Regions from separate parts of the Homo sapiens genome. Here all the other regions are linked to region 1. The links are contacts of gene promoters, found by promoter capture Hi-C in human tissues and cell types (Jung and others, 2019). All regions are on one chromosome and are shown on one strand. Each heading gives the region's core, a stretch centred on a gene start or on the middle of the fragment in contact. The rest is flanking DNA. Distances are from core to core; before and after follow the strand shown.

Region 1 (3,845 bases), core at 994-3,493:
TACTCAGGAGGCTGAGGCAGGAGAATGGCGTGAACCCGGGAAGCGGAGCTTGCAGTGAGCCGAGATTGCGCCACTGCAGTCCGCAGTCCGGCCTGGGCGACAGAGCGAGACTCCGTCTCAAAAAAAAAAAAAAAAAGAAATTTAAGAGACCACTCCTATGAGACTACTGTCCTTAGAACTTTTGGGGGCAAGTTCCTGTAGAACAGCAGCTCTGAAACCTAGGGTGAGAGACCCTGTAGGAATCGGACTCAACCTTATCCACAGAAAAATGAACAAGCAAAAAAATTTCACAAGACAGTTTATGGAACCAGGTTAAGAAGTTCTAGCCTATTGAGAGAGACTATAGGAAGGATTAAGGTCAGAGGGGGAGTAGCATTCCCCGGGTCTAAACCAGGACTTGTTTCCTTCCCTTCTTTAACCAGCAAGAAGGAACAAAGAGGACGTACTAGTGCAGGCTCATTACTAAGGACTCAAGAGTCTGTTCACTGGCAACTTTGGCTTGGGAATTTCCATTCAGCCTACAAAATGTGTCTAAGAACCACAATGCCAATCTCATCTTCTTTGCTTCCTCTGTCCCTTCACAGGTGTCAGACCTGCCCTGTGGTACGAAGACTCTCAGAGCATTCCTGCTGCCTTCTGTCTCCCTTTGTACTTCGTAGGCATTTTTGCCTCTTGTACTTCTAATTCTACCTTGGGATCACTTCTAGGAGGACTCAAACCACACACCTGCACTGCTGCAGTTTTCATAGCACCTTTACACAGAGCCCTAAGGAAGGGACCTTGGAGTCTCACAGCTCTCACTCCAGCACAACACTACAACAGAAAAATTTTACCCAAGACAATTACTTCTTAGATCTGCCCAGTGGGATGAATCCCTCAGAACCAAAAAGGCCAACGATGTTCTTGTTTCACAGACACCATCAGTAGTTTTAAAGATGTCTGTCCTTAGGTCTGAGACAAGACCCACAAAGGGTAAGTGCCAATGATATGGGAGAAATAGGTATGTTGGGTCAAATCAATAAGGCAAGATGTAGAAAAGGGCTTACCTTTGTCAGGCCTGAAAATATAACATCTAGAAACATCTTTTGCATTTATATAACACTAAACATGGAGCTATACATCCACAACTGAGGTCTGAAAAGTGAAGACACCATTCAACAGGGAGAAACTGGAGTTAGGGCAAGCAAAATCAAGTCAAAACAAAAATCCCAGTCCAAAGCATGAGTGACCTTTTGTATTCACAAGACAGGTTCTAACAACAGCAGTAGGCTCAGTTAAGTCAGCCACTTGGTGGCTGGGAACTAGGGTGCAAATGCTCTATTATTTCAGTGTCACAACCACCAACCTCAGTACCAGCGGAGGCTTTTAGTTATGGAGTAGGTGAGATTCTGAGGTAAAATACAAGGGGCCATGTCAGAATCCAGCTACACGGTATCACTTGTCCTAAATCATCTCTGCTTTGCTGTTAGGGCATGTGCATTAAAATGACTGTATCAACCTGCCTTGTCCTCCCAGGAGGACATTTAAAGATCAACTCAGCATTATTTTTTCAATCAGTATGGCGACAAAACATTGTTATAAAATAGGAGAAAGAGAAATCTTTTTAGAGTTCCCCTGAAATTCTCAAAGAAAAAAATAACCACATGCTTTGTTTTGCAAGCTTCCCCTCCCCCTTTATTCTTCGTTTATAATGTTAAGCTCTTGATGACAAACAAGCCAAGCCCACTTAGCTAGTTTATCAACACATCTAAAGCAAATCATAGTCATACTTTGATTTTAACCAAGCATGACAACAAGGCAACTGAATAGCTTTCCAAACTACCAGTGCAGCGACACTACCTTGCATAGGCTGGTGTTAAATCAGCACTTCATAAATTGTGCAGGCTTCTGCCCATTTAGATGATCTCTCTATGCAGAATCGGCAGTCTAACACTGGCTCTCACAAGCATTAAAAATCATCACTCTGCTAACCCAACTCACTGTTCAGATGGGTCTTCTTGAATGCAGCCTTTATTACAACCTCACTGCTGCTTCCTACACTGAAGGAATATCATGTTTTTAAGTCAGGAGTTCTTCTTTCTCGCTTTATTGTAATCAGGGGGTCCTGCAACGACCCCGATGCTGTTACAAAGCATGGTGCTTTATAACAGTAAAGCTTCTGGAAAACCCAAACAAAAGACACGTCATCCGGTGACGTCAGCCTATATACAGTTCTGTGTGGTCGCAGCACATAAGCAAATCCATTCTTGTGCCGTTTCTCGGAAAAGCTTTTCAGTAAATGCACTCATGCTGCTCCAGGAGCTCTTCTCTGCAACAAGCCACCCATCTGCCATCAACAAGTTAAGACCAAGAGAACTAACGGCTGCGGAAAGGAGACTGAAGCTTTGATTAACCAGCTGAGCAGTTAGAGGTGGAGAAATTTAATAACTTATATTCAAAACTGATTTAGGGATCAGAGCAATCACAGAAAATGAAACCAATGCTTTCCAGAGGGATATCCTAAGGAAAAAACAACTCGTCCTGGTGGATTCAATTTTACTTGGAAAGCCTGGGACACAGAAAACAGGAAACTGGTCAAAGGCTCCTACATGTTAGAGCCTTTTACAGACTCACTGCGTTGAGTCTAACAACCGCGACTGAATGCAGCCTCCAATGTGCTCAGAAGAATGGGTAAGTCTGTGCATTTATATGTCTTGTACATTCAACAAGGAATCACGCTTTTAAAATAAGCTACCGAATTCACATTTTATGAGGGAAATCACCATCATATTTTGGATTTTGAGGTTTAGGTAAAAGCATATATCGATGATGACAGAGACATGTTTTATCTTCTTTTTAAATGGCTTAAGTTTTGGTCCAGTCATACCAATAAGGTTAATTTTTCTGCAGTAAATGAAAAATAAGTTATATGCAGTGAAATCTTTTGCTATAATGTTGGTGGTGGTTGTTTTTTTTAAATAGCCCATATGTTCTGCTGAAAAATATCCTATCTTCTTGTTTTCCTTAAATTATATTCTGCAGGCTTACATTTCAAGTGGCCATTAGGGGCCCCTATGCTGGCAGCAATATATGCAATGAGTATGGTTTTAAAAATGCTGCCTGCCCTGGGTATGGCGTGTCCACCCAAATGCCGCTGCGAGAAGCTGCTCTTCTACTGCGACTCTCAGGGCTTCCACTCAGTGCCAAACGCCACAGACAAGGGCTCTCTGGGCCTGTCCCTGAGGCACAATCACATCACAGAGCTCGAAAGAGATCAATTTGCCAGCTTCAGTCAACTTACTTGGCTCCACTTAGATCACAATCAAATTTCAACAGTAAAAGAAGATGCTTTTCAAGGACTATATAAACTTAAGGAATTAATCTTAAGTTCCAACAAAATATTTTACTTGCCAAACACAACTTTTACCCAACTGATTAACCTGCAAAATTTGGACCTGTCTTTTAATCAGCTGTCATCTCTGCACCCAGAGCTCTTCTATGGCCTTCGGAAGCTGCAGACCTTGCATTTACGTTCCAACTCCCTGCGGACTATCCCAGTACGCCTGTTCTGGGACTGTCGTAGTCTGGAGTTTCTGGATTTGAGCACAAATCGTTTGCGAAGTTTGGCTCGCAATGGATTTGCAGGATTAATTAAACTGAGAGAGCTTCACCTAGAGCACAACCAGCTGACGAAGATTAATTTTGCTCATTTCCTACGGCTAAGCAGTCTGCACACGCTCTTCTTACAATGGAACAAAATCAGCAACTTGACATGTGGGATGGAGTGGACCTGGGGCACTTTAGAAAAGCTAGACCTGACTGGAAATGAAATCAAAGCCATCGACTTGACAGTGTTTGAAACGATG
Region 2 (3,798 bases), core at 1,012-3,511, 130 kb after region 1:
CCAAAGTGCTGGGATTACAGGTGTGAGCCACTGCGCCCAGCCAGCATGGGATCTCTCTAAGCATGGGACCCTGAAGATGAAATTACAGGGTTTGTTTTGGGAAAAGAAGGGTAAGGTGACAGGAAGATATGAGAGATTTGCAGTGTGCCTAAAGAGAGTCAGTTTCCTACTCCTGAGAAATCGTGAAAAGCTTACCAGGGAAGGCTGGAGCATTCTCTATATCCCAGGCACTTGCTGTGTGCTGAGGAAGTGAATAAAAACTGAGACTGACTTGATCCCTGTTTTCACACCACTTAAAGGTAATGATGAAGACAGATACTAAAACAGGTAAACTGACTGGGCACGGTGGCTCATGCCGGTAATTCCAGCATTCTGGGAGGCTGAGGCGGAGGATCGTTTGCGTTCAGGAGTTGGAGACCAGCCTGCACAACATGGCAAAACCCTGTCTTTACAAAGGATACAAAAATTAGCTGGGTGTGGTGGCATGCACCTGTAGTCCCAGCTATGTGGAGAGGGCTGAGGTGGGAGGATCACTTGAGCCAGGGAGGTGGAGTTTGATGTGAGGCGAGATTGCACCACTGCACTCCAGCCTGAGCAACAGATTGAGACCCTGTGTCAATACACACACACACACACACACACACACACACACAGGCACACACGTAAACCAGGAAAAAAGAAAGGCAAGTGTGAAGATAGGGGAGAGATACATGTAGGTTTGTGGGTAAATTAACTACCCTGGGATTCGGAGACCTGAGAAGTGACCTTTATGTGGTGACTCATCTCCAGTCTGGCTTTAGCATTCGCCTTTCCACCAAAACTGCTTTTATGAAGGTCCCTGATGGCCTCCACGTTGCAAAATCCAATGGTCCGTCCTTCCTCAGTTGACTTGTACAATCAGCAGCATTTGGTCACTCTCCTCCTTGAAACACTTTCTTCATTGGGCCTCCAGGGCACCAGGCTTTCCTGATTTCCATCCAGCCTTCCTGGCTAAGCTTCTTAGTCTCCATTGATGATGACTTCTAATTCCTCCTAACCTCTAAATGTTAGAGCAGGGATTCTCAAAGTATAGTCTGGACATCACTGATAACTTTTCAGGGAGTAATGTGGTAAAAACTATTTTCACAATAATTCTAAAATATCATTTGCTTTTTTATGCTCATTTTCTCCCGGGTGTACAGTAGAGTATTCCACAGGCTAAATGATGTATGATGTGGCATCACATGCAATGTGAAAGCACATATGAGAATCCAGCTATCTTTTATTAAGTCAGATAGAGATTTGTAAAAATGCAAAACAACAACAGTTCTCCCTGAATTTTTCTTTTGTTTTAGAAAACATGGTTATTTTTCTTTTCAAAAATGTTATTTATTGATAAGATGTAATGGACTTGCTATTGTTATTTTTTAATGAATTAATAAATATTTTGAAATTGTTTATTTTAATTTCTAATACAGGGTCTTGCTCTGTTGCCCAGGCTGGAGTGCAGTGGTGCTATCATAGCTCAGTGTAGCCTTGATCTCCCAGGTGCAAGCAATCCTTCCACCTCAGCCTCCCCAGTAGCTGGGACTACAGATGCACACCACCACGTGTGGTTAATTTTTAAATTTTTCTTTTGTAGAAACAGGGGTCTCACTCTGTTGACCAAGCTGGTTTTGAACTCCAAGCCTCAGTGATCCTGCTGCCTCAGCCTCCCAAAGTGTTGAGATTACAGGTGTGAGCCACCCTGCCAGGCCTATAGTAAATATTGATAGATAAAACTTTCATAAGCAAGAGTTCTTTGAGATCTTCAAATTTTTTATAGTGTAAAGGAGTCTTGAGATCAAAAAAAGTTAAAAACTTTGGCTGGGTGCGGTGGCTCACACCTGTAATCCCAGCACTTTGGGAGGCCGAGGCGGGTGGATCACCCAAGGTTGGGAGTTCGAGACCAGCCTGAACAACATGGTGAAACCCCATCTCTACTAAAAATACAAAAATTATGGCCAGGCGTGGTGGCTCATGCCTGTAATCCCAGCACTTTGGGAGGCAGAGGTGTGCAGATTACCTGAGGTCAGGAGTTCGAGACCAGACATGGTGAAACCCCATCTCCTTAAAAATACAAAGTTAGCTGGGCATAGTGGTACATGCCTGTAGTCCCAGCTACTTGGGAGGCTGAGGCAGGAAAATCGCTTGAACCTGGTAGGCAGAGGTTTCAGTGAGCCAAGATCACACCATTGCACCCCAGCCTGGGCGACAAGAGCAAAACTCTGTCTCAAAAAAAAAAAAAAAAAAAAATTAGCTGGGTGTGGTGGCACATGCCTATAATCCCAGCTACTCCAGAGGCTGAGGTAGGAGAATCACTTGAACCCGAGAGGCGGAGTTTGCAGTGCACTCCAGCCTGAAGTTATAAATTTCTGTTAAAGTGTCCCAGGGCTCTGTCCTTGGACTTCTTTTTCTACTAATAGCTGTCATTAACCCATTGATGCCAGTCTTTTGACTTGAAATATGCTGACAACTCCAGGTATATATCCCTAACCTGAACCTTTCCCCTGAATTTGCAGCTCACTTATCCAGCTCCCTACTTGATGTTTCCACTTAGATAGCCAATAGGCATCTAGGCATCTCAAACTTTATCTTATTTTTGAGCCAGGGTCTCACTCCATCACCTAGGTTGGAATACAGTGGTTTGATCATAGCTCAATGAAGCCTTGATCTCCCAGACTCAAATGATCCTCAGCCTCCCAAGTAGCTGGGACTACAGGTATGTGCTGCCACGCACAGCTTTTTTTTTTTTTTTTTTTTTTTTTAGTAGAGATGAGGTCTTGCTATCTTCCCCAGGCAGGTCTCAAACTCCGAGCTCAAGTGATCCTCCTGCCTTGGCCTCCCAAAGGATTACAGAAATTAAATGGCATGAGCCACCATGCCCAGCCCATCTCAAACTTTATATGTCTGTATGTCCAAAACTGATTTCCTAATACCACTGTCCAAACCTACTTATCCCATAGTTTTCTTAATTTCCTTAGATGGCAACTCCATCCTCTCATTTTGGCCATGGCTGAGGCCAAAAACCTTGGCGTTATCCTTGGCTATTTTATTTCTTGCATGCATTTCAAATCTGATTCCTTAGACCCTGTACTTCTGCCTTCGAAATAGAGTCAGAACCCACTAACTTTTTTTTTTTTTTTTTTGAGACGGAGTCTCACTCTGTCACCCAGGCTGGAGTGCAGTGGCGCAATCTCGGCTCACTGCAACCTCCACCTCCCAGGTTCAAGCAGTTCTCCTGCCTCAACCTCCCGATTAGCTGGGATTACAGGTGCCCGCCACCACACCCAGCAATTTTTGTATTTTTTTCAGTAGAGACGGGGTTTCGCTGTGTTGGCCAGGCTGGTCTCGAACTCCTAACCTCAAGCAATCCACCCACCTCGGCCTCCCAAAGTGCGGGGATTACAGGCATGAGCCAACGCACCAGGCCCAGAAGCCACTAACTTTTTACTATCACCATTGTTACCATCCTGAATCAAGCCACCATCATCTCTTAGCCTCAATTTTGCCAGGGGAGCCCAACTGGTCTCCCTACTTCTGCACTTGCCTCCCTCAGTCTAGTTTAAGTTCAGCAGCCTGAGTGATCTTGTTAGAAAGTAAGTCCAAGTGGCCAGGCACAGTGGCTCATGCCTGTAATCCTAGCACTTTGGAAGGCTGAGGCGGGCGGATCACGAGGTCAGGAGATGGAGACCATCCTGGCTAACACGGTGAAACCCCGTCTCTACTAAAATACAAAAAATTAGCCAGGCGTGGTGGCGGGCACCTGTAGTCCCAGCT
Region 3 (3,538 bases), core at 538-3,037, 250 kb before region 1:
CCTCTGGGGCTTAAGTGGTCTTCCTGCCTCAGCCTTCCACATAGTTGGGACTACAGGCTCACACCACCATGCCTAGCTAATTTTTTTGTTTTTTTAATTTTTTGTGGAGACAGGGTCTCACTGTGTTGTTCAGGCTGGTCGTGAACTTCTGGCCTCAAGTGATCCTCCCACCTTTGCCTGTCCTTTTAATAGCTACTGGGGCTTGTACTTTTATTTGTTTGACTGTTTGAAAGCTGATGTGAGAGGTTTTGTGACTTGGGAATATCGAACTTTGCTGTCTTAGAGGATATTGATGCCATCTGTCTTCAGGTAGGATAATGGGTGTGTTTTAGAAGTGGGTGGTTATAAAGGCTTATGTGGATTTGTGCCCATGTTTGTTCACATGCAGATCAGTTGGTTAGTTTCCCTCTCTCCTTATAGTCAAGACCACCCGCCACAACCTGATAACAAGTTCTAATGAAGAAGGAAGGGACTAGGGCTGTAATAGCTTATGCAGGAGTCCTGATCGACTGTATGGTTCTACCCAGGGCATATCTCTTGTTGGATGGCTGGACCCACCATGGTAGATGGAGGCTTCAGAATTATCTAGAAGTGGTAGAAGACTCGTTATACCTCTATGCAGGAAATGTCTGACATGTGAGCAAGTGACGACATGGGAATCACAGTGCGGGGGAACCAAGCATTAGCTTTTCATTGACCTTCTGTTGTCTATGCTTGCACCTGCAGGTCCCTGACTATGGCTCCCCAGAGCCTGCCTTCATCTAGGATGGCTCCTCTGGGCATGCTGCTTGGGCTGCTGATGGCCGCCTGCTTCACCTTCTGCCTCAGTCATCAGAACCTGGTAAATATCTTTATTGTAAATGGGAGGGACCCTTGATGAGGTCTTGAGAAGGCCTCCCTGTCACCAGGGCTGTTGTGGGAGTAGGGTGTGGGCTTCTATGTTTCTTTCTTATGTGAGTGTGGCTGGCAGTGGATCATGGAGTAGGTAGACTTCTTCCTCCCCATCCCTGTGTCTTCTGGCCTCTGTTTAAAGCTTATGACACAGTTTCCCTTTGGGGAAAATATGATGATGATGATAAATTCATAATTATAATCTTCCATTTACCAAACCTTGTAGTGAGTGCTTTATATGTATTCTCATTTAATCCTCCCAACAACACTATGAAGTAGGCAGCTACAGTTTTTATTCTCCTTTTGAGGAGAAGACTAAGACTCAGAGACATTAAGTAACTTGGCCAAAATCACACAGCCAGTTTGTGAGAGCTGTGAATGTCAGGATTCTTCCCAAAAGCTGAGTGCCTGTGTGGTGGGCATCAGTTCCAAGTAAGACTCTTTTTCTTCCTCTACTCCTCTCTCCCTTGTACTTTCTCAGTTCATCTCCATCTCTGTATCCTCCTTCCTTTTGTCTGTAGCTCCCTGTTCTTTCTGGGCCACACTTCATTAACCTAGAGCTTACTGCTCAGGGCTTCTGCCATTGCCACTGGCAGGAGGAGAATGCCCAGAAAGGCCCTGAGCTTGGCCTGGCTGCAGCACACTACGGTTCCTGGCCCTGTTTACTTGGCTTGTCCCAGCAACAGCCTGCCCTTGACCAGCTCCTAATGCCCTCCCTCTCCTCTCCCTTGATAAGCTCCCACTGTCAGTTATTTGACAGTTTCACCCTCCCCTGGCCACCTTCCCCAACCCCCAGGGCTCCCACTAAATGTTGGATAAAGCGCTGGAAGCTCTGGAGCGGGAGGTCCTTGAAGTGCAAATGACAATTGTGATGAATTTAATAACAATCCAGCTTAGCTGTGGTTCACCTCTGGCTCATGGCAAGCTTCCACCTTCTCTCTGAAATCATTTGTTTCCTCTCTGCCTTTCCCCCCACTTCGTGGAGCAGGGGAAAACATACAGTTAGGAGTCACGAGTCCTTTTGAGTTTTTAATGCCCTCTGAGATCCTGTTGGTGCTGTTTATTTGCCTCTTCTTCAAGGACAGTAAGAATGGGATCCCAGGGGCCCCTGAGAATGGGACTGGCTACAGCGTGAGGTTGGGGCTGTCTCTGGCATGGGTTGGCGGTGGAATGGCCCAGAAAAGAACCTTCAGGGCCCAGGGCTGTGTCCCCTCCCCAACTTGTACCTCATGAGGATGCCATGCTCCCCATCGTGAGCTTTAGCAGATGCACAATTAACAAAGGCATGCTGATGAATTTACTTAAGGACCGAGTTAGGAAGTCCCTTTTGGATAATAGTCCAACCAAATAGATGAGCTTTCAGAGCATAATTATTCTGGCCCATTTATATTAGCTCTATTGAGTCTAGTCTCAGAAAAATGTTAATACTGACTTTCATCAACAGAAGCTGCTTTTATCCTTATGTCTGTTCCTAAGCTGTATCCATTTGTCATAATCTTTCATCATGTGCTAAGCACAAGTAGGAGTTGAAGCATCTTTTCTCTCATACCATAAAAATTGCTGCCCTGATGTCATTTAAAATCTAAATTATGCAGCCAGCCACCTTCACAACAGTGAAAATGGGGTGGAGGTGGTTATGATCCTTTCTTCAGAGCCTGGAGTCCAGGTAAGTGCTCCTGATGACCTAGAATTGTCCTCCCCAAAGGCATTGGGGCAGGTTAATGCCCACCCAGGAAAGGCCGGCTGTGTGTATCACAGTATGATCTGGAGCCAGCTTTCCTTCCTGGCTCCTGCTGTGGTACTTCCCCGGGATGCCACATCTCAGGAGGCGTGTAGATGCTGAAGGGCTGTGGTTGTGTGTTACTGGCCTTGAAAAAGGTGGTAAACAATGAGGCGGGTACAGTAGTGGAGCCTTGTGGAAGGCGCACAGGCCCTTCGTAAGATCCCTTTTGCCTCCCACTTTGGCAATTTGACCCTTTCTGAGCTTTGTTTCCTAATCTGTAAAACAGGGTTGGTACCTCCCTCTTAAGGTTTTAGTGTAGATTAAATATGATTATATATAAAGCACCTGGCATTGAAACTGGCACAATATGGCCAATAAATGGTTAATGAATGTCAGCTGTTGTTTTTTAGTATGGGGATGCTGCTTCTATGGTTTAATTTGGGCTGTGTCAAGCAGGCTTCTGTCCCAAAACGTTGCCCTGGCAGTCTGTCTCTGTTACAGTGTCTGTCAACCCACCATTAGAGATTCATTTATTCTCTTGGATCTTGAAGGCTTTGGTTTTTAAGAATCTCTTATTCGGATACAAGCGCAAGGAAGTGTGACATGGTAAGCTGTTGTCAGCTAACACCTTAGCTAGGATTTCTTGCCAGTCACTTGAGAGGAAATTGGTATTTGGAATGATGGTGATAGGGAGAAGAGAGCACTGATGATCCAGCGTGGAAGGCAGCCCTGAGAAGCCAGCTGGGAAGGCACCAGAGCACGGGGTTTACTTCACAGCTGACCAAGGGCTGGCCTGCCTCTCTCTCTCTCCTGTTCAGGACACTGCCTAGGCAGAGTGAGGCTAGTTGTGCTTGTTCTTTTACTGGGACTATGGTTTCTTACCTGGCCCATGGAAGTCTTTGCCGAGGAAGGGCATGTGCTGGT

The links. Contacts are between HindIII fragments. The study calls those that stand out against the background at their distance.
Region 2: a fragment that was not itself captured here is called in contact with the fragment with the promoter of LRRTM2 in region 1 in 1 of the 25 tissues and cell types used here (IMR-90 fibroblasts).
Region 3: a fragment that was not itself captured here is called in contact with the fragment with the promoter of LRRTM2 in region 1 in 2 of the 25 tissues and cell types used here (hippocampus and mesenchymal stem cells).

Annotation. Positions count from the first base shown.
Region 1 is chr5:138,873,733-138,877,577 of GRCh38, reverse strand. It overlaps LRRTM2 (leucine rich repeat transmembrane neuronal 2), which reads left to right and starts at 2,243. Exons shown (of 2, transcript NM_015564.3): 1 at 2,243-2,670; 2 at 3,022-3,845. The coding sequence starts at 2,667. The region is part of intron 7 of CTNNA1 (catenin alpha 1); the gene reads right to left. The HindIII fragment of the contact is 3,441 bases long and covers 1,909-3,845 here.
Region 2 is chr5:138,745,760-138,749,557 of GRCh38, reverse strand. The region is part of intron 1 of CTNNA1-AS1 (CTNNA1 antisense RNA 1); the gene reads left to right. Among named protein-coding and RNA genes, the nearest start is that of CTNNA1, 5.8 kb to the left of the region's middle. The HindIII fragment of the contact is 3,336 bases long and covers 594-3,798 here.
Region 3 is chr5:139,125,042-139,128,579 of GRCh38, reverse strand. It overlaps SIL1 (SIL1 nucleotide exchange factor), which reads left to right. Exons shown (of 10, transcript NM_022464.5): 2 at 727-841. The coding sequence starts at 737. Among named protein-coding and RNA genes, the nearest start is that of SIL1, 72 kb to the left of the region's middle. The HindIII fragment of the contact is 3,859 bases long and covers 1-3,538 here.